6 separate regions of the Homo sapiens genome follow, and all the other regions are linked to region 1. The links are contacts of gene promoters, found by promoter capture Hi-C in blood cells and fetal thymus (Javierre and others, 2016). All regions are on one chromosome and are shown on one strand. Each heading gives the region's core, a stretch centred on a gene start or on the middle of the fragment in contact. The rest is flanking DNA. Distances are from core to core; before and after follow the strand shown.

The links. Contacts are between HindIII fragments. The CHiCAGO score rates a contact against its expected background, and 5 or more counts as called.
Region 2: a contact is called between a fragment that was not itself captured here and the fragment with the promoter of CTPS2 in region 1, in 1 of 17 cell types (naive CD8 T cells). The highest score is 8.1, in naive CD8 T cells.
Region 3: a fragment that was not itself captured here is called in contact with the fragment with the promoter of CTPS2 in region 1 in 1 of 17 cell types (fetal thymus); the score reaches 6.2 in fetal thymus.
Region 4: a contact is called between a fragment that was not itself captured here and the fragment with the promoter of CTPS2 in region 1, in 1 of 17 cell types (naive CD4 T cells). The highest score is 6.1, in naive CD4 T cells.
Region 5: a fragment that was not itself captured here is called in contact with the fragment with the promoter of CTPS2 in region 1 in 1 of 17 cell types (naive CD8 T cells); the score reaches 5.4 in naive CD8 T cells.
Region 6: a contact is called between a fragment that was not itself captured here and the fragment with the promoter of CTPS2 in region 1, in 2 of 17 cell types (non-activated CD4 T cells and total CD8 T cells). The highest score is 5.7, in non-activated CD4 T cells.

Annotation. Positions count from the first base shown.
Region 1 is chrX:16,710,649-16,714,095 of GRCh38, reverse strand. It overlaps CTPS2 (CTP synthase 2), which reads left to right and starts at 1,427. Exons shown (of 19, transcript NM_175859.3): 1 at 1,427-1,761. RefSeq lists silencers at 1,555-1,644, 1,705-1,974. The HindIII fragment of the contact is 10,682 bases long and covers 1-2,789 here.
Region 2 is chrX:15,784,808-15,788,358 of GRCh38, reverse strand. CA5B (carbonic anhydrase 5B) reads right to left here. Exons shown (of 8, transcript NM_007220.4): 8 at 1-3,551. It overlaps CA5BP1-CA5B (CA5BP1-CA5B readthrough), which reads right to left. Exons shown (of 12, transcript NR_160544.1): 12 at 1-3,551. It overlaps INE2 (inactivation escape 2), which reads left to right and starts at 770. Exons shown (of 1, transcript NR_002725.2): 1 at 770-2,643. The HindIII fragment of the contact is 701 bases long and covers 1,197-1,897 here.
Region 3 is chrX:15,749,701-15,753,088 of GRCh38, reverse strand. CA5B (carbonic anhydrase 5B) reads right to left here. Exons shown (of 8, transcript NM_007220.4): 2 at 2,924-3,118. The coding sequence starts at 3,065. CA5BP1-CA5B (CA5BP1-CA5B readthrough) reads right to left here. Exons shown (of 12, transcript NR_160544.1): 5 at 2,924-3,118. Among named protein-coding and RNA genes, the nearest start is that of CA5B, 13 kb to the right of the region's middle. RefSeq lists an enhancer at 1-225. The HindIII fragment of the contact is 3,634 bases long and covers 1-3,385 here.
Region 4 is chrX:15,806,645-15,809,974 of GRCh38, reverse strand. ZRSR2 (zinc finger CCCH-type, RNA binding motif and serine/arginine rich 2) reads right to left here. Exons shown (of 11, transcript NM_005089.4): 6 at 1,704-1,742; 7 at 657-775. Among named protein-coding and RNA genes, the nearest start is that of ZRSR2, 18 kb to the right of the region's middle. The HindIII fragment of the contact is 155 bases long and covers 1,741-1,895 here.
Region 5 is chrX:15,715,345-15,719,187 of GRCh38, reverse strand. The region is part of intron 3 of CA5BP1-CA5B (CA5BP1-CA5B readthrough); the gene reads right to left. LOC124905268 (small nucleolar RNA SNORA7) reads right to left here and starts at 2,980; the gene lies at 2,842-2,980. The HindIII fragment of the contact is 494 bases long and covers 2,006-2,499 here.
Region 6 is chrX:15,733,684-15,737,417 of GRCh38, reverse strand. The region is part of intron 4 of CA5BP1-CA5B (CA5BP1-CA5B readthrough); the gene reads right to left. Among named protein-coding and RNA genes, the nearest start is that of CA5B, 2.7 kb to the left of the region's middle. The HindIII fragment of the contact is 3,678 bases long and covers 101-3,734 here.

The DNA of each region.
Region 1 (3,447 bases), core at 178-2,677:
TAGGACTAGAGCTCTGGCCCATCACTGCAATCGCAGTCTTTCTGTGCCCTCCACCTCCTCACCCTCTTGTCCTTCTATTCTATGCAAGCAGGAAACTTGGGTTTCATAACTAAGAGCTATATTTCTGTAGATACCTTGCCAGATTATAGCAGATTATAGCTGGACACCACTACACGATGATGGTTTCTAAACTCCACTAGGTCTTCAGTGACTCTTGTCTAACTTGTCGCTCTAGCATCTCACACTGGTTATGCGAAATTTCCACCACTTTCCTAAAACCTTCCATCTCACTTCAGACCCTTCTGTTGTCCATGTTAGCTTCCTTCAGTGGTTGGCTTCTTGCCTTCACCCGAAAAACCTCCTGTATCCGTTCCCAGCACCAATCATCCTCCAATACTCTTTTTTTTTTTTTTTTTTGAGACAAAGTCTCCTCTGTCACCCAGGCTGGAGTGCAGTGGCCTGATCTCGGCTCACTGCAACCTCTGCCTCCCAGGTTCAAGCGATTCTCTCTGCCTCAGCCTTCGGAGTAGGTGGGATTACAGGCAGGTGCCACCACACCTGGCTAATTTTGCATTTTTAGTAGAGACAGGGTTACACCACGTTGGCCAGGCTGGTCTCGAACTCCCGACCTCAGGTGATCCGCCTGCCTTGGCCTCCCAAAGTGCTGGGATTACAGGCGTGAGTCACCCGAAGAGTGACTTTTTAGAGTATTTGGGCGGGGTGCAGTGGCTCAAGCCTGTAATCCCAGCATTTTGGGAGGCAAGGCAGGAGGATCAGCTGAGGTCGGGAGTTCGAGACCAGCCTGGCCAACGTGATGTAACCCCGTTTCTGTTAAAAATGCAAAATTAGCCGAGCTTTTTGGCATCCGCCTGTAATCCCAGCTACTCCGGGGGCTGAGGCAGGGACAATCGCTTGAACCCGGGAGGCGGAGGTTGCAGTGAGCCCAGATCGCGCCATTGCACTCCAGCCTGGGCAAAAAGGGCGAACGAAACTCCGTCTCAAAAAAAAAAAAAAAAAAAAAGTCACTCTTGGAAGCCTTAATTGCCTTCCTCCCCTCACTGCACCCCCGCAACTCTTTGCTGCAGAAGTATTGTTCTAGGGAACCTTACTGGTTCCAACAGACGGGTGGACCTCCCACCAGACTGTGAGCTAGCTCCTCAAAGGCAGGCATTCTCTTTCCTTTTCCTTCTCTCCTGAGCGCTCCTGCAGTTCCTGGGGCGTAGTAGGGGATCCACAAGCGTTTGTGACCAGTGAAGTTCTTTACAAGGGTGAGATCTGCACGGGAGGACCCGAGCGAGGGTCTCGGCTTGCCAGGAAGCCGGGGTTCCCCGGGAAGCGTGGAGTTCACCCGCGCACTCGAAGTGCCTTTGCAAAGTGAGCCACGGGAGGGAGGAGCGGTCCCCGGGCTGGGCGAGGCCTGGGGCCCAGTGCGTCCAGAGCGGAGGGTGACGGGAGCTGCCTGTGCTGGAGGAATCACTTTTTAGGCGCTTGTTTTGGACCATTGCACAAACCCGGGTGCAAACCCCAAGCTCACCAGCGTGAGTGAGCTGGGCCAGCAGCAGGGAGGAGAGGGGAAGGTGGGCGAGGAGGGCGCCGCGCACCCCGAGGCCCGTGTGGGCGGTGGGAAGATCCCGGGGGCGGCTTTGGACAGCCCCGGCAGCGACCCCTTCCCCAGCCCGACAGGTGAGCGCCAGGCCAGCCGCGGGGTGGAGCCCGCCGTGCCCACCGGCCACCCTCCCCGGTGCTACCACCACCGCGCAGGTAACTTCCCTTCTGGGCCTGTCCCAGACCCCCAGGGCCTCGGCGCCCGGGCCATCCCTCGTCCCCAGGGCCTCTCCGCCCTGCACCCCCAGCCCCGGTGCACTTGTGGGGCCGGGCTCCTTTGTCCGCTCTCTGATGGCGCCGGCTCCCTGCCCAGCGCTGAGTCGGGTCCGGCCGCCAGCCCCGCGCTCGCAGACCTCGGCTGCCGGGTGTGGCGCGGGGACTGGGGAACGCTGGCCCGTGCCCAGTGCGGTTGGAGCCTGTCCCGCGCGTCCCCGGGACGCGCTTCTTCCCGCCTCCGCCCGCGCCAGCGCCCGCACCCGGATCCCCACTTCTCCCGGCCCTCGGGAGCCAGGAGAGCCCTGAGATGGCGTTGGCGGAAGTGAAGCCCCGAGCGGGGGTCTGCGAGGCTGGTGATCAGCGCCGGTAACATGGCCTTTCTGTCCTCTCCCCGGTCCCAGTGCACCCCTTAAACAACGACCCCCGCGTTTTCCCCGTACTAGATGGTTAGGGCGCATAGTGCCGAACTACGCTGCTGCTACAGAATAGCTTTTTTGGGGGCAACATAAAAAAGAATTGTATGTATGGTTTATATACAACAAAATGTCCCATTTTCAGTGTGCAAATCGACGGGATTTGACAAATTATACACTCCTGTAACCATTATCCCAAAGTGAACATTGACCATTTCCTTCACCCTGCAAAGTTCCCTGGTACCTCCTTTCTGTCAATCCACCCCAGGCCCCGCACTCAACCCCGGTTCTGATTGTTATCATAGCTTAGCTTTGACTGTTCTAGAACTTCATAGAACAAGATCATCAGGTAAGTACTCTTTTGTGTCTAACATTACTTTTTAAATGGCCATCACTGAGAAGGTGTCTCTGGGTGCTTCCGGTGCTTTTATTTGCTCTAGGCCTGCCTGGTCTAATGTGGGAGCCACTGGTCACATGTGGTTATTGAATACTGGAAATGTGGCAAAATCCGTACTGAGATGTGCTCTGAGTACAGGCACCTGATTTCTGAAAGCTTAGTACACAAAAAAGATGTCAAATATCTCACTAATACATTCTTACATTGTGCGTTAAAAGTGATAACATTTTTGGCTACATTGGGTTAAATAACATATATTAACATGAACTTCATTTGATTCTTTTTACTTTTTTAATATGGCTACTAGAAACTTAAAATTACGTACCTGGCTGTGTAATATTTTTTATTAGGTAGTGGAGACAGCACAGCTCTACACTGTGCTATCCTATAAACACTTGGTTCTGCTCACTGCATGTAAGAGTAAATGAAAAACTTGTCTTGACACCAGAAACAATCCTCAATGGAGGAAGTGATCTAAAACAGGGCCAGCCTTTCCCTGAACCTTTGAAACTTTGTTAAACTTACTTGTGTGCTTAAAAGAAGTAGAGGGCCGGGCATGGTGGCTCATGCCTGTAATCCCAGCACTTTGGGAGGCCGAGGTGGGCGGATCACGAGGTCAAGAGATCAAGACCATCCTGGACAACATGGTGAAACCCTGTCTCTACTAAAGATACAAAAATTAGCTGGGAATGGTGGCATGCACCTGTAGTCCCAGCTACTTGGGAGGCTGAGGCAGGAGAATTGCTTGAACCCGGGAGGCGGAGGTTGCAGTGAGCCCAGATCGTGTCATTGCACTCCAGCCTGGTGACAGAGCGC
Region 2 (3,551 bases), core at 298-2,797, 930 kb after region 1:
TATGCTGATACAGTGCCTAGCAATAGTGAATGCCTCCAAAACTTTAGCTGTTACATCATCTCATCACCATCATCATTAGTGTGAAAACTTCCTGACCCCTCAAGAGGGGATGAGGCGCTGTATGCATTTCCAGTACAAGTATTCCACCTTTTATAACATCTATCATGGTTTACTACACATTGTCACCTTTACCTTTCTGCTTCTTGACTAAATCTTAAACTAAACTCTCTAGTTGGAGGTTTGGCAGTTGTATCCCCAAACTAGAGTGCCCTGGATGGCACAGAATGTTGTAGCTATGCAACTCACCAATTTTGCTGGTCCCTGTGATCAGAATTTACGCTGAGAATTGCTGCCCGTTCTGAAAGCATCAGTGTTTAAGTTGTTGTAACATTTCTTCTGAATCAGACCAGACTTTCACTTCAGAACAATAAGTAACAATTCCTTCTAAGAAATCTCGGCTCACTGCAACCTCCGCCTCCTGGGCTCAAGCGATTCTTCTGCCTCAGCCTCCTGCGTAGCTGGGATTACAGGTGCATGCCACAACCACCTGGCTAATTTTTGTATTTTTTAGTAGAGACGGGGTTTCACCATATTGGCCAGGCTGTTCTCGAACTCTTGACCTCCGGTAATCTGCCCGCCTCGGCCTCCCAAAATGCTGGGATTACAGGCATGAGCCACCGCACCCGGCCATAGATTTTTTAGTGAGTTAGAAATGAATGTAAATTTCCTTTTATAGGAGTTAGACATTTATTTTTAACAATTAACCACTGAATTCATTTTCAGAAATAGGCCTGAATTGCTTGTTAATTTCATTACAGGAAGTAACTCTAAAAGCCAATTCCACTTCCAAACTATAATTACCATCATCTGAATTTAACAGGGAAAGACATCTTCCAAGACTTCTTTTGGGCGGATGCTTAGTTTTAGAATAGCCAACTTTACCCTAACCCATGTACAAGACAGTTCTCCAGGTGGCCTTGGACTGACCCAGTTCTCCCTTCTTCCTTGCTTGTAGTTCTTAAGAATAACTGTAGAATGCACTGGGAATGCAATATCCTGATATGGAGGAACTGCCTGAAACAGGTTGGCCTTGTTGTTGTCCCTCCTAGGGAATGTAACATCTTGATTTAGGGAACTGTTTGAGACAGCGAGGTTGTGTTCCTCTTTCCCCTGGAAGGAGGATGTACTTTAAAGCTTTGCCCAATGAGTTATGTGGCTCCTATGGTATATAACCCAAGGCAGGCTGTGGTGCAAGTGGGGCACGTACAATCAAGACTCCATCAGCCCCGCCCTGGGCAGCTTTCTTGAGCCCTGGGGGACTGGCTCACAATGGAGCCAGGGCCTCTTTTGTCCCTTGCTTCCTGTCTGTAAGTAATAAATCTGCTTCATGTAATGTATTGGGTGTGAGTGTGTTCTGTCACAATGGAATCAGACAGGTTGGTAACCAGTGTACACTGAACCTGCTTGGCACCATGTAGCCCTGGGAAAGGAGAAAGGCGGTCACAGCTTGCCCTATATGGTGATGCCAGCACACTGTGCACTGTACTGTGCAACAGAAAAAGGTGCACTGAGGAGGATCGGCTGCTTCTTCCCATTGTTGCTTCTTTAGTAAATCCCCTATGAGTTTTTAGTCGCTTTCTAATCTACAAGTTAAAGGATATCTCATTAATTTTACAGATATATACATATACTGTAACAATAGGAAGGAAGTCTTTCACCAACCACTAATACTGTAAAGAAAGCATTGTATCGATCTAGTATTATTTAATGAAGACGGACAGCAATTTTAATACAATCTTCTTTTCCAAGACCTTTGACAGACCTTAGGCCCATTTTCCACCTTTATGTCTAGGAAAGTATAAGTAAAACACTTTTGAGGGCATAAAAAACACAAGCTTCTTGTTAAGGTGTATCAGTAGCCAGGGAAATCTGCTGTGCCCCTTTGAGGGTCATCTAACTAAGGCATGGAGAAAGAAACTGCCTCAAGTCAGTTTCTATCACCTCTGCAGGGAAGCTGGCCATGCAAACCAGGACATGGTTCAAAGTGAAAAAGAGTGTGGTTAATAATCATGCCAGAACACCAGGTATAAGATGTAAGGGCAAGTCAGGCATTCTGTACATTGCTTCTCCCTTCAGTTTGGAAAACTCACTGCAGTAGGGTTTTGACTTATCGTTTCACAAGACAGCTAGGAAGGCCAGGCACAGTGGCTCACACCTGTAATCCCAGCACTTTGGGAGGCCAAGACGGGTGGATCACGAGGTCAGATCGAGACCATCCTGGTTAACACGGTGAAACCCTGTCTCTACTTAAAATACAAAAAATAGCCGGGTGTGGTGGCGGGCGCCTGTAGTCCCAGCTACTCAGGAGGCTGAGGCAGGAGAATGGCGTGAACCCGGGAGGCGGAGCTTGCAGTGAGCCGAGATCGCGCCACTGCACTCCAGCCCGGGTGACAGCGCGACTCTGTCTCAAAAAAATAAAAAAAATAAAAAAAAATAAAAAACAAGACAGCTAGGAGGAAAGCCTGTATGCTTTGGAAAATGCATATCTTGTGTGTTTACCCTTTTAAAGGTAACTATACTTTGAAACAGGTGAACTGCAGAAAGTTAACAAAGACTTCTTTTTTTACCATGTTTACCTTTCTAAGAATTCTATGCATTTCCTAGGGCATACATGCAAAAGCCTTCACATTTCCCCCTTTTTAAAAGAGATATTTCTCAAACTTATACGTATACAGTTCAGTAGTGTTAAGTACAATCACACTTGTTTTGCAACAGATCTCTAGAATTCTTGCAACACAAGCTCTGTACCCACTAAATACAAATTCACCCTCTCCCCTTCCCCCAACCGTTGCTTGGCAACCACCTTTCTACTTTCTATTGTATGATTTTGACTACTTTGCATACTTCACATGGAGGAATCATATAGCATTTGTTCTTTTGTTGGCTGGCTTATTTCACTTGGCATAATGCCTTCAAGGTTCATCCACATTGTACATTTGACAGGATTTCCTTCTTTTTAAAGGCTGAATAATATTCCATTGACTGTATATACCACATTTCCTTTATCTATTCATCTGTTGATGGACATTTGGGATGCTTCCAGAACCTCTTGGCTATTGTGAATAATGCTGCTATGAACATGGGTGTACAAATATCTCTTTGAGATCCCGCTTTGGTGGTAATTCTTATGGTAATTCTGTTTTCAGTTATTTGGGAAACCTGTGTACTGTTTTCCGTAATGACTGCACCGTTTTACATTACCACCAACAGTGCACAAGGGTTTCAACTTCTCTGCATCCTCCCCAATACTTGTTATTTTTTTGTTCTTCTGATAGTGGCCATCATGATGGGCGTGAGACGATATCTCATTGTGGTTTTGATTTGCATTTCCCTAATAATTGGCAATGTTGAGCATATTTTCATGTTCTTATTGGCCAATTGTATAACTTCTTTGGAGAAATGTCTGTGCAAGTCCTTTGCCCATTTTTAAAAATTGAGTTATTTGGTTTTTTGTTGTTGAGTTGTAGAAGTTCCTCATATATTCTGGATTT
Region 3 (3,388 bases), core at 319-2,818, 960 kb after region 1:
TTTTAGAGAGGCACGAGACATCAATCAAATACATTTAAGAAATGCATTGGTTTGGTCCAGAAAGGCGGGACAGCTCAAAGCTGGGGTGGGGGTTGGGGGGGCTTCTACGCTATAGGTAAATTTAAACATTTTCTGGTTGACAATTGGTTGAGTTTGTCTAAAGACCTGGGATTGGTAGAAAGGGAATGTTCAGGTTAAGATAAAGATTGTGGAGATCAAAGTTCCTTTGAAGTCTTATAGTAGCTGCCCTTAGAGACAATAGATGAGAAATATTTCCTATTCAGATCTTAGTTAATCTCTTTAGGATTGGGAGGGTCTGGAAAAAAAAGATCTAGCTATGTTAACAGAGATTTTTTTTTTTTTTGAGACAGAGTCTCGCTCTGTCGCCCAGGCTGGAGTGCAGTGGCGCGATCTCGGCTCACTGCAAGCTCCGCCTCCCGGGTTCACGCCATTCTCATGCCTCAGCATCCTTAGTAGCTGGGACTGCAGGCGCCCACCACCACGCCTGGCTAATTTTCTGTATTTTTAGTAGAGACGGGGTTTCACCGTGTTAGCCAGGATAGTCTTGATCTCCTGACCTTGTGATCCGCCCGCCTCGGCCTCGCAAAGTGCTGAGATTACAGGCGTAAGCCATCGCGCCTGGCCCAGAGATTCTTTACAGATACAAATTTTCCCCCATGCAGAACAGCTTTGCAGGGCTATTTCAAAACATGGCAAAGAAACATGTTTTGGGGTAAAATATTTTGATTTTCTTCTTTGTCTTGTAATGTTATGCCAAAGTCAGCTTGGAAAGTAAATCACGATATATAGGGTTGAATAAAACCCATCTGGTGAGAATTTATGATTTGTGGGGCATGACTCCCCAGACCCCTTAGATAGGAATTTGGGCAAGATAAAAAAAAAATCAGAGTTTCGTCCTCACAATGTATACCTTACATGTATTGATTTATGTCTTGCGTGTAACTTCTGTCTCCCTAAACCATGCTGTAACCCAACCACCTTGGGCATGTGTTCTCAGGACCTCTTGAGGCTGTATCATGGGCCACAGTCACTCATATTTGGCTCAGAATGAACCTCTTCAAATATTTTAGAATTTGGCTTTTTTCATTAACACGTTATCTTTTCAAACCCTCAAGAATCTGGGGTCATTCTTGGTCACAAGTGTACATTGGCCTTCTGTTGGGGTATTGAGCTGTCAGAAACAATGAGAATTGTCTTTACAATTGAGCAGACGAGGGTCCAGAACATAGAAACAGGACCGGCTCGAAGGCCCAGAGCAGCAAAGACCACAATATTATTCTTGGGGCAAACAGGTTGGAACAGTATAATATGCTACAAACAAAATCAAATGGTGACTGTCCCCTGTTTTTCCTAGTAACTTAGAAACAAGAACATGTCATCTGTTGTGGGAAATTCACTAAGTAAAACTGCCCCTCCCGAAGCCACTACTGTTTGTTTTTTTTTGTCAGCACTAAAAGCAGCAAACTATCCTAACTACATACGTATACCGGATTTGGATGTTTAATTTCAACTGTCAAAAAAAAAAAAAGCAAAACTATTAATACTTTCCAATATAAACCATAGACCACAAAGTGCCAGTGTTCAGAATAAGCCAGTCTCAGTAGGATGTGGCATGTTTGTAGGAAACCACACCTAGCAACCAGAAATTTATTATGCCTCTGGTCCGTTTATTTGAAAAAGAACACAGTCAATGTTGAAGGAAACAAAATAAACTTACAGTGAAAATATATTTGTAGAGCAGTTTCAAGCCCTTGGATGTAGCTAGATTAGCATTACTAATTTACAAGCATTCCATTCTTACTCAGTCTTTTTATTATGTGCATATGGGGTCAAAGAAAATAAACACTAAAGGGGAGAAACCTAGACCTCAGTGCAGTCCAACATTTGAAAACTCTGTGCCAATGTTTTTTAAATAATGGAAAACATGAAAAATTCCTCCTTAATGATAATACTTAGCCATTTCATCTCTTCATTAACTCAAAGTTATCTGTTCACAAATACACACATTATCCTTTCCCATTCTCTCAACTGCCCTCTCTAGGGCAGTCACGCAGAGCATGTTTGGCAATGTCTGCAGACAGTTTTGGTTGTTATAGCTTCATGAGGGTGCTACTAGCAACTAGTAGGCAGAGGCCAGGAATGCTGCTAAAGACCCTCCAGGGCACAGGACAACCCCCTACAACACACAATGATCCATCCTCAATGTCCATCATGCCGCAGTGGAGAATCCCTGCCACATCCGGACATGGGCAATGCCTTGTATTTCCAGGAGGGGAACGAGATGAGAGAGGTGTGAGGAAGACCATTTCCTGCCTCACTCAATCTTCCATCCTTACAGCAGAGCACACACTTGCAAACTGATCAGCTAGAATTAATTCAGTAATTCCTAACTCAGGACAGAATATTCCAGAACGTTGAAGCTAGTAAACTGTTTACAAACATTTACATGCAACTTCCAGAAACTTAAGGTTCCCAGAAATAATTTGTGGTTTGTGGATCAACCTTTGTTTAAAAGAAAAAAAAAAAGACAATTGCTACCAAGAAATAATAAACAACAGGTTCCAAAATATTAAAAACCGGGATCTGTCTCTTGTCCAGTTTCTGCATGACATCATTTTAACATGCTAAAATTAGTCAAGAAAGAACATTCTACATTTACTTTCATGAATCAACAGAGAAACAGTTATTCTCACAGTTCATAAGGCATATAATCCTACACTGGAAAGCCAAAGACAGCATAGCTACAAATGTTTAACATGTGTGATTATTATAAAGATGAGTATTTTTGCTCTTGCACACTTGCTCCCTCTTTTCTTTTCTCTTTTTTTCTAAGAGATGAGATTTCACTCTGTCACTCAGGCTGGAGCCCTTTTTGTTCTCTTTAAGGAAGTGGTGTACTCACAGGCTCGGTTCCGGGTTTTGTAAGTACAAGTATAGAGGCTGCAGGGCCTCGCTGGCATGAATCTCGGAATCTGGAACTTTCTCCACAGCAATTTGCCTGGAGAGGCTTGAAGAATGACCCTCAGGCTGTTCATCACCACCATCTTTAGCTTGAAATCTTGATCAGTTCCCAGTTAAGTTGCAGGAACTTAATAATCTAGAGGGATGAGGGCAGAGGAGGGAAAGCTGTAAACAACAGAAACTTAAGATGATGGAGAAACCTCTAAGCAGGACAATATTCAGACTAGCAGTACACACCCTGAGGTGGAGGGAGGGAGGGCAGATGAGAGTCAACGGTTTATCCACTCTTGTTCCTCAAACTCATTGGTCCCCTCAGTGGAGGGCAGGGAGGGTCCTGAGGACTGACTCACATGCTTTGCCTTTCCCTCAGGGTTGGCGAATATTAGAAATCCAGAGAAAAGCTTCT
Region 4 (3,330 bases), core at 569-3,068, 900 kb after region 1:
AACTGGCAGCCACTGAAGCCCGTTTTGAACCCAACGGTCTGTACCTGAGTCTGGGCACACTCACTGACAACAGAAATTAAAACACTTTTCCTCTCCTCATTTGGATCCTGTCTTTCACAGATATCCCTTTACACATGCCAAGTTTTGTTTTTTTTTTTCTTTTTTGAGACAGGGTCTTGTTTTGTCACCCAGGCTGGAGTGCAGTGGTGTGGTCATAGCTTACTGCAGCCTGGAACTCCTGGCACATGCCAAGTTTTAAAAGCCTGTTTTGGGGACAGTGTGTGCCCTTCAAAAAATAAAGCCAAGCTGCTCTAAGCTCTTCAAATATATTATTTCCCCAACCCAGTTGTCCACCATGGACTAATGCAAGCTCAGGAAGAAACCAACAAGCAAAGTGGCTTCCTAAAGATGCAGAATGCAAAGGAAGCACCCTCAGAGAACTAGGCTAAGCCCACCCAGGGAACAAGGATAGAGGGAACAGGGATGGTCAAAGCAGAGGATGATCAGCTGGGAAAACGAGAGCAGCAGCAAGAAGGCAGCAGATGTCTGATGACGGACATTTGAAATGGAAACATGCGCCTCTCCCAAAAGGGGAACTCAAAAACGTCAGCATTTTGAATCACTTCATTCTGACATGATAAAACAAAATTAGTTACCTATCTCCAAATCTGCAAGCTCCTGTTTTACTGTAGAAGGGACAATTAGCTCGATCCTTCTCCATTACTCTGAAATCCACGGGTGGTTCTGGGTTTTGCCATGTGGTACCATTTTCCAACTGTTGAAAATAACCATGACTTTACTGGTGGAGTAAAAACCCATGAAAGACGAAATGTTTCAAAGTATATTAAAATATTTTCCTCAAAGATAAACATTGTTTCATTTAATAATGCAAACATTTAAGTTGGAACAGGCAATCAAGACTTTACAAACAACGGTACTGAGACATGAGCTCCATGTCTCTCTTGGCTCCTGGTCACTTTCCTTTATCTGGTATCACTACTGCCACCAGGGGCAGTCGCCAAGGTTTCCATCCATTCTAAAAAGGGTCCAAGAAGGCCGGGTGCAGTGGCTCACGCCTGTAATCCCAGCACTTTGGGAGGCCGAGGTGGGTGGATCACCTGAGATCAGGAGTTCAAGACCAGCCTGACCAACATGGAGAAACCCCATCTCTACTAAAAATATAAAATTAGCTGGGCGTGGTGGTGCACACCTATAATCCCAGCTACTTGGGAGGCTGGGGCAGGAGAGTTGCTTGAACCCGGGAGGCGGAGGTTGCAGTGAGCCGAGATCATACCACTGTACTCCAGCCTGGGCAACAAGAGCAAAACTCCGTCTCAAAAAAAAAAAAAAGAAAAAAAGAGAAAAAAAAGGGTCCAAGAACTTATTAGGGAACCACCACAGACAGAAATAGAAGTTACTCTGATTCAAGGTAAACCGTCCACTGGAGGCTAACGGTATGTGATGTTGCTTAAACATACTGTAAGGACTCTAAACAGGTCCAGTCCACAGGGGTCATGAATACCATTTGTATTTGTTCATCAATAAAGTTTGTTGTTGTTGTATAAATCAAAGCATCATAAACATGAGTCCAGATATCCAAACATGATCTAACTAACCTACCACGAAACTAACATTACTGGAACTATTATTTCTAAGGAAACATTAATTGGTCTCAAATTATCAATGTAAGGTTTTAAAAATACCTCATTTTCAGCCTGATCCAGCATCTTCTGCAAAGCTTCCTAAAATGGTGCAAACACAGGACTAATAAAAACCCAGAAGTCAGGTAAGTCACATCTGGTTTCTCTGGTTAAGAATCTCAAGTGGAACAATTAAAACACACACACGCACACAAGTTCTAGTTTTCTTTTGAATCACAGATCTTTTGAAAAGCTTTCAAAGGATATATAGCTGAGACTTTTCTCTTTTTTTTTTGAGACAGGGTCTCACTCTGTCACCCAGGCTGGAGTGCAGTGGCGTGACCTCAGCTCACTGCAACCTCCGCCTCCCAGGCTCAAGTGATCCTCCCACCTCAGCCTTCCGAGTAGCTAGGACTACAGGCGCACACCACCACGCCTGGATAACTTTTGTATTTTCTGTAGAGACGGAGTTTCACCATGTTGCCCAGGCTAGTCTCGAACTCCTGAGCTCAAGCAATCCACCCGCCTCAGCCTCCCAAAGTGCTGGGATTACAGGCATGAGCTACCGTGCCCGGCCCATAGCTGAGACGTTCTATTCAAATAGAAAATTTACCAGATCACATTGCAAAATATTTAAAATAGTCTTATAATAGTTTCAATAATAGTAATACTTAGTATATTTGAGTATATATACCATGTCCTAGTTCGTAAAAGGGGGTATTAGTGAATATAAAACACAATGCTAGGCCGGGCATGGTGGCTCACACCTATAATCCTAGCACTTTGGGAGGCTGAGGCGGGTGGATCACTTGAGGTCAGGAGTTCTAGACCAGCCTGGCCAAGACGGTGAAACCCCGTCACTACTAAAAATACAAAAATTAGCCAGGTGTGGTGGCACGTGCCTGTAATCCCAGCTACTTGGGAGGCTGAGACAGGAGAATCGCTTGAACCCAGGAGGCAGAGGTTGCAGTGAGCCGAGATGACGCCACTGCACTCCAGCCTAGGCGACAGAGCAAGACTCTGTCTAAAAAAAAACGAACAAACAAACAAACGAAAAAACCCAAAAAACAATGCTAGATGAAATCATAAACATTTAGCAGAAGCTAAAATATGACATGACCAGTGGTAATTAGCATTTAGGAGAAAATTCTAACTTTTTAATAAGGCAAAGGAGGTTCTGCAATATGCCAGTAAATTTCTACCTAATTGGCATTTGAACAAGTTGTACCTATGTTTAACAGACAGTCTTATCTTCCCTAGCCCCTTAAAGCATTACATAAGACTCGTATGTCTAGTTGCTTATTTGTGGTGCTCAAAACAGAACTCTTGTCCTCTACACTCCCTGGCCCACATCCACCTGAATGCTCCCTCAGTGAATAGTGTTGCCAGTCTATCTGTCTATTCAAACTAAAAACCTAAAAATATGACTTGAATTCCTCTCTCTCTCCTTGTCCTCTGGTCAACATGGTGAAACCCTGTCTGTACTAAAAACACAAAAAATTAGCCGGGTGTGGTGATGGGCGCCTGTAGTCCCAGCTACTCAGGAGGCTGAGGCAGAAGAATCGCTTGAACCCGGGAGGCAGAGGTTTCAGTAAAGTAAAAATGATCTGTTAAAAAAGTCTGGTGCAGTGGTTCACACGAGCACTTTGGGAGGCCGAGGCGGGTGGATCCCTGGAGGTCAGGAGCTCGA
Region 5 (3,843 bases), core at 1,003-3,502, 1.0 Mb after region 1:
TCGAGGAATGGGGTAGAATTTGGGGACTGAATTTATGAAGAGGCAGCATGGTAGAGAGGAAAGCCCTGACATCAACCTCTGGGCGGGGCGTCGATTGGCATCTGTGGAATGCCCACGGGGAAAGATTCTTTTACACTCATTATCTTAATTCTCAGAGCATCTCTGAGGTTTTGTTGCAACTTCAGCGTTCTTTTTTAACTTTTATTTTAGGTTCAGGGGTACATGTGCAAGTGTGTTATATAGGTAAATTGTGTGTCACGGGAGTCTGGTGTACAGATTATTTTGTCACCCAGACAATAAGTACAGTATTCGATAGGTAGTTTTTCGATCCTCTCCCTCCTCCCACCCTCTACCCTCAAGTAGGTAAGAGGAAGCTCTGAAGCTCTCCTGGGATGTTCACCCGCTGTGGTGAGTCAGGTGAGGCCCTTCATGGAAGGGCACCCTTTGTTTACCAGAGAGAAAGGAGTCACGTTTGTTTCCTGAATGAAGATAGTCTGTCTATGAACCAGGTATCCTAGCCCCGAAAAGGTGGAAGGTGCATGCCAAAAAACCTCTAGATAGGACTCAATTCTTCCCATCATACACGTAACCAGAGACTCGCAGAAGGGGTGAGGGAAGGATTCCAACTTTGAGTCAGCAGAGGAAACATTCTTTTGAGGTAGAGTCTGGAAAAAAACAACGAATCTGTAGATTTCCATAAATAACTGACAGGAGACAGGTGACTTCTATGAAAATATTAACCCAAATGATGGGTGTTAATCATTAAACCTTTTAGGTGGTGGCTTTGTTCTTTTTCTGATATTTTAATCTGGGTCACAGAATGGCTCAGGCAGCTTTAAGTGCAGAGTGGGTTTTTCTTCCTTTTTTGTTTGCCTTTTGTTTTCTATTCCAAAAGGATGTTGTGACCTCTTTTCCTGGTAACTGCTATTCTTCCCTCCCTCCCTCCCTCCCTCCCTCCCTCTCTCTCTCTCTCTCTTTCTTTCGAGATGAAGTTTCACTCTGTGGCCCAGGCTGGAGTGCAGTGATGAGATCGTGTTCAAGCAATTCTCCAGCCTCAAACTCCCAAGTAGCTGGGATTACAGGCGCCCGCCACCACGCCCGGCTAATTTTTGTGTTTTTAGTGGAGACAGGGTTTCACCATGTTGGGCAGGCTGGTCTCGAACTCCTGACCTCAAGTGATCCACCTCCCAAAGTGTTGGGATTACAGGCATGAGTCACCGTGCCTGGCCAGAAATTGCTATTCAGGTGGAACTCTGTCAACCAGGTAGTTAGCCTTGAAACTTAAAAATACATTAACATGGGCCAGTAAGAGAAAAGGCTGGACAATAACCACTGTCAAAACAGCAATAAAAATAATATTAAAAAACAGCAATAAACAACCTAATTTTGCATCCAGCTCTGTTCCAAGCAAAAATAAAAAAAATAAACAAAAACAAACCAGTTTTCTGTTGAGTGCATCTTTGATTTAAAGGACTTGTTATTTCTCTAAATTTGCAGATGTGTTGAGGCTTGAAATTTGAGCCTGTGACTGTTTTATGAGTTTCAACAGAAAATATTAAACCACCTAAAATGACAGAGGGTAAACTTTCAGTAAATAATTTGGAGCCATTCAGTTGTAGATCTGTTTTTTGTTCATTCCAGTTGCATAAAATATTAGGAATCACTGGGCTCTGTTTGACACATTTTGTCATTATTACCACTCTTTCGAGTGCTCAATAGCCATCTATGTGTAGTGGCTGCCATATACAGACACAGAACATTCCCATCATCACAGAATGTCCCATTGGACAACGCTGTTCTATAGCATTAACTTTGATTTTCACAGCTGCCAGATTTTTGGGTTGATCAAAACCAACCCCTTTGCAAGAAAATGCTTTTAGAGTGAGACAGAGCAGCTCTGGCAACTAAAACGGTAAGTGAAGTACCTGAGTGTTCATTTTGAAAAAATTGCTTTCTAATAACACTTTCTTTATTGCTGGGCCCTTCTGCATAGTTATCTTAAGCTTGAGTAAATCATTCCTAAAGACCTCATTCCAATGTTTTATTAAAGCAATAATAGACTAAAATGGAAATTGTTAATAAAATGGTTTTTATTAAAGTATTTATAGTACATGCTAGAAGTATGAACTGATGACACAACTAGTATGTGTCACTTGGCCTGTGAAACCATATGTGGGATATAAAGATATGTTCAATTATATACATTTATTGAGCACCTATTATGTGTCAGATACATGCACAACAGGTGGCTAAACTGCTATGGACCTTCTTGTACGTGTTTTTTCTGTATGCTTTTTCTTGGGTATTTACTTAGGAATAGAAATTTGGGTCACAGAGTATACATATGTTGAGAGCTATTATCTCTTTCCTTATCCTCTTGTGAGTTGTACACCTTCTCATTAGTATATATGCTCAATTTCACTTATGCATGGAGGCTCTTTCTTTGAAATGTTTTGAATGCCCTAGGAGAAGTATGCTATGTATTTCAATGAACAAGCTTTCAATCTGTTCACACTTGCCCAGGATAAGTTGGTTCCACTGGCAGGATACCCAACCCAATCTAGAACTACATCAATCCTGTTCTGATCTAAATAGCTTGGGGCTTTCTTTTGTGACCAAAACTGGACCCCTACCCAGCCAGCTCAAGCTCTTGGTTTTAAGAGGAATCAATGAAAGGACAGATCAGGTTAAATCATCCTCAAGATCTGAAAAACAATTTAAGTATGTGTTCTGGTGAGAGTTGGCTAGCATCTTCATTTTAAAAAATACTGTATTTCTCTTTTTCTCAGACCCATGTTAAAGAAGAATCATGGAAGGAGGGTTTCCTGTCCAGGGATTGAACACTGTTGCAGAGTTTCTTCCAATCACCAGCTACTGAGCAAGCTGGGAATGAAATGGGTACCTCTGCCAGATTTGCTTTTCATCCAGTTTCCAAAGCTGGCAGAATACTATCCACTTCCAGATGCCATCCTGGGAGGTAGGATCTTCATTTTTATCTGCTGCTCTGAGCTTATCATTGTTATCTACACTTGAACAGGCTCATTCATCATCTCTACATTGTGTTAATAAGCCTTCCCTATCTTTACAGCATGTACCAACTCTTAATCAACAATAGTCTTTCTTGATTTTCAAGTTTGTAGATTAGAGGTCTTTGTGTGCTTCTGCTACTTAAGCAGGGAAAGGCACCAAGGGGATAGTGAAACTCAAATTTATTTTTCCTTATATTTATGAAAATAACTTTGAGGAAAGAGAATCCTAAAATTCTTCACCGAAATGAGGATTTGGATTTTATTTGTATTTCAGCAAGTTATTCTTTTCCTATCTGAAGTTATATTACAGATAGTACAAGGGAACATCTAAAGCCAGTTCTTCCTTCATGCCCAAGGGAGTTGTTTCACTGCAATGTAAATTAGTTTGAAATCCATCCTGGCTGGGCACAGTGGCTCACACCTGTAATCCTAACACTTTGGGAGGCTGAGGTGGAAGGATAACTTGAAACCAAGAATTCAATACCAGTCTGAGTACAAAGTGAGACCCCGTCTCTACAAAACATTTTTAAAAAATTAATTGGGCACGGTGGTGTGTACCTGTTGTCCCACCTACTTGGGAGGCTGAGTAGGAAGAATCACTTGAGTCCAGGAGTTCAAGGCAGCAGTGACCTATGATCATATCACTGCACTCCAGCCTGGGTGACATAGAAAAACCCTGTCTCAAAAAAAAAAAAAAAATTCCATCCTATGAGCAAAATAGCCATTAATGATATATGAAACATTCCTTCTAGTTTTCAGTAGTCAATGAGAAAGCCTACCCTCACAGACAGTGGTGGCTTCAAATTTTCTTTGT
Region 6 (3,734 bases), core at 690-3,189, 980 kb after region 1:
AGCTTTCTTCCCCTGTGTACATAAATCTCTGACTCATTCATGCAAATTTCATTTATTGAGTACATGCTCCCCTGACAAACAAGACAAGCCTCAAGAAGCTTACAGTCTGAAGTTGCCCCAACTTGGGTTTGGATGAGAAAATTGGGGAAGATGTGGCAAAAGGTTAATAGGTGGAAAAGGAGTTGGTAATCTCAGGTCATTAGTAGGAATATTTGGGGGTAGTAAACATAGGAAGCCACTTTTATAGTATTTAGTACATTTCTTTACACAATAAATTATCAAAAAATCTTCACTGAATATCTACTCTTCCACATGTATAGAAATATATAATTTCCCCCCTTTGTAGAAGTAAAATTTGCTACTTATATTGCTTCATATGCCAACAATAAAGATTTTACTATCACACAGTTCTTTTTTCTTCTCCTCCCTTGCATTTCTGGCTTGAAGACAGTGAGAATATTCAAAATGTTGGGCTAGAAGGAACACAGAGAAAAGAACAACTTTCAACAGAACACTTTCATTATGCTCGCCCTGACCCTGAGAACTCTGCCTCATTTATAAAATGTTTCAACTGTCAGTCATTTTTTGCCTGAAAAATGAATTCACAGAAATTGGTCCAAATACAGTCTATATAAATTACTGAGTTTATTTTTATACAAGTAGTTCTACTTCACCTTCTTCCACAAATGATTTGAGGCAGCGTCCTAAAATATAGACATTAGTAGATTTAAAAATAGGGGAAGGAACCAGTGAAAGGAGAGCTTAATGGAAGGAGAATGATGTGGCCAATGATAAGATTAACATTTAAGTTTGCACTCCATCAGATCCAGAACAGTTGTCAGAAGTAGGCCAGAAATTTGACCCTAACTAAGCTGTTGAATAGCCATAGAAAAGAGGAAATAGCAATCATTTTTAGGTTTTTACTGTTCATAAGATAAAAACTGGCTTTTTTTCTTTTCCCTTTTTTTTTTTTTTTTTTTTGAGACAGAGTTTTGCACTTGTTGCCCAGGCTGGAGTGCAATGGCGCGATCTCAGCTCACTGCAACCTTCGGCCCTCAGGTTCAAGCGATTCTCCTGCCTCAGCCTCCTGAGTAGCTGGAATTACAGGCATGCACCATCATGCCCGGCTAATTTTGTATTTTTAGTAGAGATGGGGTTTCTCCATGTTGGTCAGGCTGGTCTTGAACTCCCGACCTCAGGTGATCCACCCGCCTCGGCCTCCCAAAGTGCTGGGATTACAGGTGTGAGCCACTGCACCCGGCCTTTTTTTTTTTTTTTTTTTTTTTAATGGAATTTCACTCTTGTTGCCCAGGCTGGAGTGCAATGGCATGATCTCGGCTCACTGCAACCTCTGCCTCCCGGGTTCAAGTGATTCTCCTGCCTCAGCCTCCCAAATAGCTGGGATTACAGGCGCCCGCCACCATGCCCAGCTAATTTTTGTATTTTTAGTAGAGACGGGGTTTCACCATGCTGGCCAGGCTGGTCTCGAACTCCTGGCCTCAGGTGATCCACTTGCCTCAGCCTCCCAAAGTGCTGGGATTACAGGCGGGAGCCACCGTGCCCGGCTGTTTTGTTTTTATAGAAGCAGTTTTTCTTGAATTTTAGTCCTGAGAGAAATACAGTTTCCTCATAAAGATGATGTAGTGAGCCTAGTGGGAACTATGTGTCATAAGGAGTGACACCCAAATCCCCTCAATGGAAACTGTTGGCACAATCACAAAGCACAGTGCATTAAATCAATTCTATGAATTGGCCAGGCATAGTGGCTCAGGCCTGTAATCCCAGTAGTTTGGGAGGCTGAGGCAGGAGGATTGCATGAGCCCACGAGTTAGAGACCGGCCTGGACAACATGGTGAAGCCCCATCTCTACAAAATTAGCTGAGTGTGGTGATGTATGCTTGTAGTCCCAGCTACTTGGGAGGCTGAAGTGAGAGGATCATCTGAGCCTAGGGAGGCTGAGGCTGCAGTGAGCCGTGATCACACCACGGCATTACAGCCTGGGCAACAGACTGAGACCCTGTATCAAAAAAAAAAAAAATTCCATGAACCATCAACATATTTCTGTTCACTTGAATACACAAGCCCTCAATGGTCTGGCTTAATCCAGGGTAGCATTTAGATCATCTTTCCCCAGGATGGCAAATAGGTTTCAACTCACATGTTAACTCTGAACTATTTGTAGTAGCTGCCTGAATAACTATGTTGAGAAGTTTGGGGGCTTTGTCCAGGCTCAGAAAGAAAAAGTTCTGTACTCAGTTAACAATGCTGTGGGTGCAGGATAGGTAAGTGGCTGCATGCAATAACCTACCTGGTACCTCTGCTTTGTAGAAATAGAGGTCTTGCATGCAGAACTTTGTGCAGTCACTCAAAATCAACAATTCTCGTGGCCAGGCGCAGCAGCTCATGCCTGTAATCCCAGCACTTTGGGAGGCTGAGGCGGGCAGATCACCTGAGGTCAGGAGTTTGAGACCAGCCTGACCAACCTGGAGAAACCCCATCTCTACGAAAAATAGAAGATTATCCAGGCATGGTGGCACATGCCTGTAATCCCAGCTACTAGGGAGGCTGAGGCAGGAGAATTGCTTGAACCTGGGAGGCAGAGGTTGCAGTGAGCCGAGATTGCACCATTGCACTCCCGGCTGGGCAACAACAGCGAAACTCCGTCTCAAAAATAAATAAATAAATAAATAATTTCTCACCACAGGGTTTTTGATAAATACCAGAGTGTAGAGAGTTCCAGGTCCCTTTCTCACTCTGATCCACCTATACTGGTCTTCCCATGTTCATTCCTGTCTCTGAACATTTTCTTTTGTTGTTCCCATTGTTTGGACCACTCTTTACTCGGATCTTTACATGGCTGGAGTTTTCTCATTATTCAGTACTTAGCTAAAATGTCACCTCTTTAGATATGTTTTTCCTGACAACCATATCTGAAGTTGTATCCAGAGCCTCTCAATCTGCACTGTGCCCAGAGATCACCCGAAGATCATGTTACAATGCAGACTCTGATGCAGTGGTTCCGCGATGTGACTTGAGATTCTAGATTTCAAGCATGCTGCCAGGAGATGCAATCCTGAGGTTCTATAAGACACTCTGAGGCTGGCACGGTGGCTCATGCCTATAATCCCAGCACTTTGGGAGACCGAGGCAGGCAGATCACCTGAGGTCAGGAGTTCGAGACTGGCCTGGCCAACATGGCGAAACACTGTCTCTACTAAAAATACAAAAATTAGCTAGGCGCGGTGGTGGGCACCTGTAATCTCAGCTACTCAGGAAGATGAGGCAGGAGAATCACTTGAACCCAGGAGGCGGAGGTTGCAGTGAGCCGAGATCACGCCATTGCACTCCAGCCTGGGTGAGAGCGAGACTTCGTCTCAAAACAAAACAAAACAAAACAAAACAAAAAGACACTTTGAGTAACAGCTTCACCTCTCCATCTCTATTACCTATTTTATTTTCTTCATAGTGTTTCTCAGTATTTGAAATTATTTGATTATTTGTTGGTTGGTTGTTTACTATAATGTAAATTCCCTAAGAGCAGGGACTCTGACCAATTTGCCCAACTTTGTACTCCTGGCAGTTAACACAGTACCTGGGGCATCAGCAAATACCCTTTAAATATTGCTAAATGAATAATTTTATGATTCATTAATTCCTTTATCTGTTCAGTGACTGCTTAGTTATATGCCAGGAACTAAACTATAAATGATAGAAGGCAGTGCTACTCAAGTGCT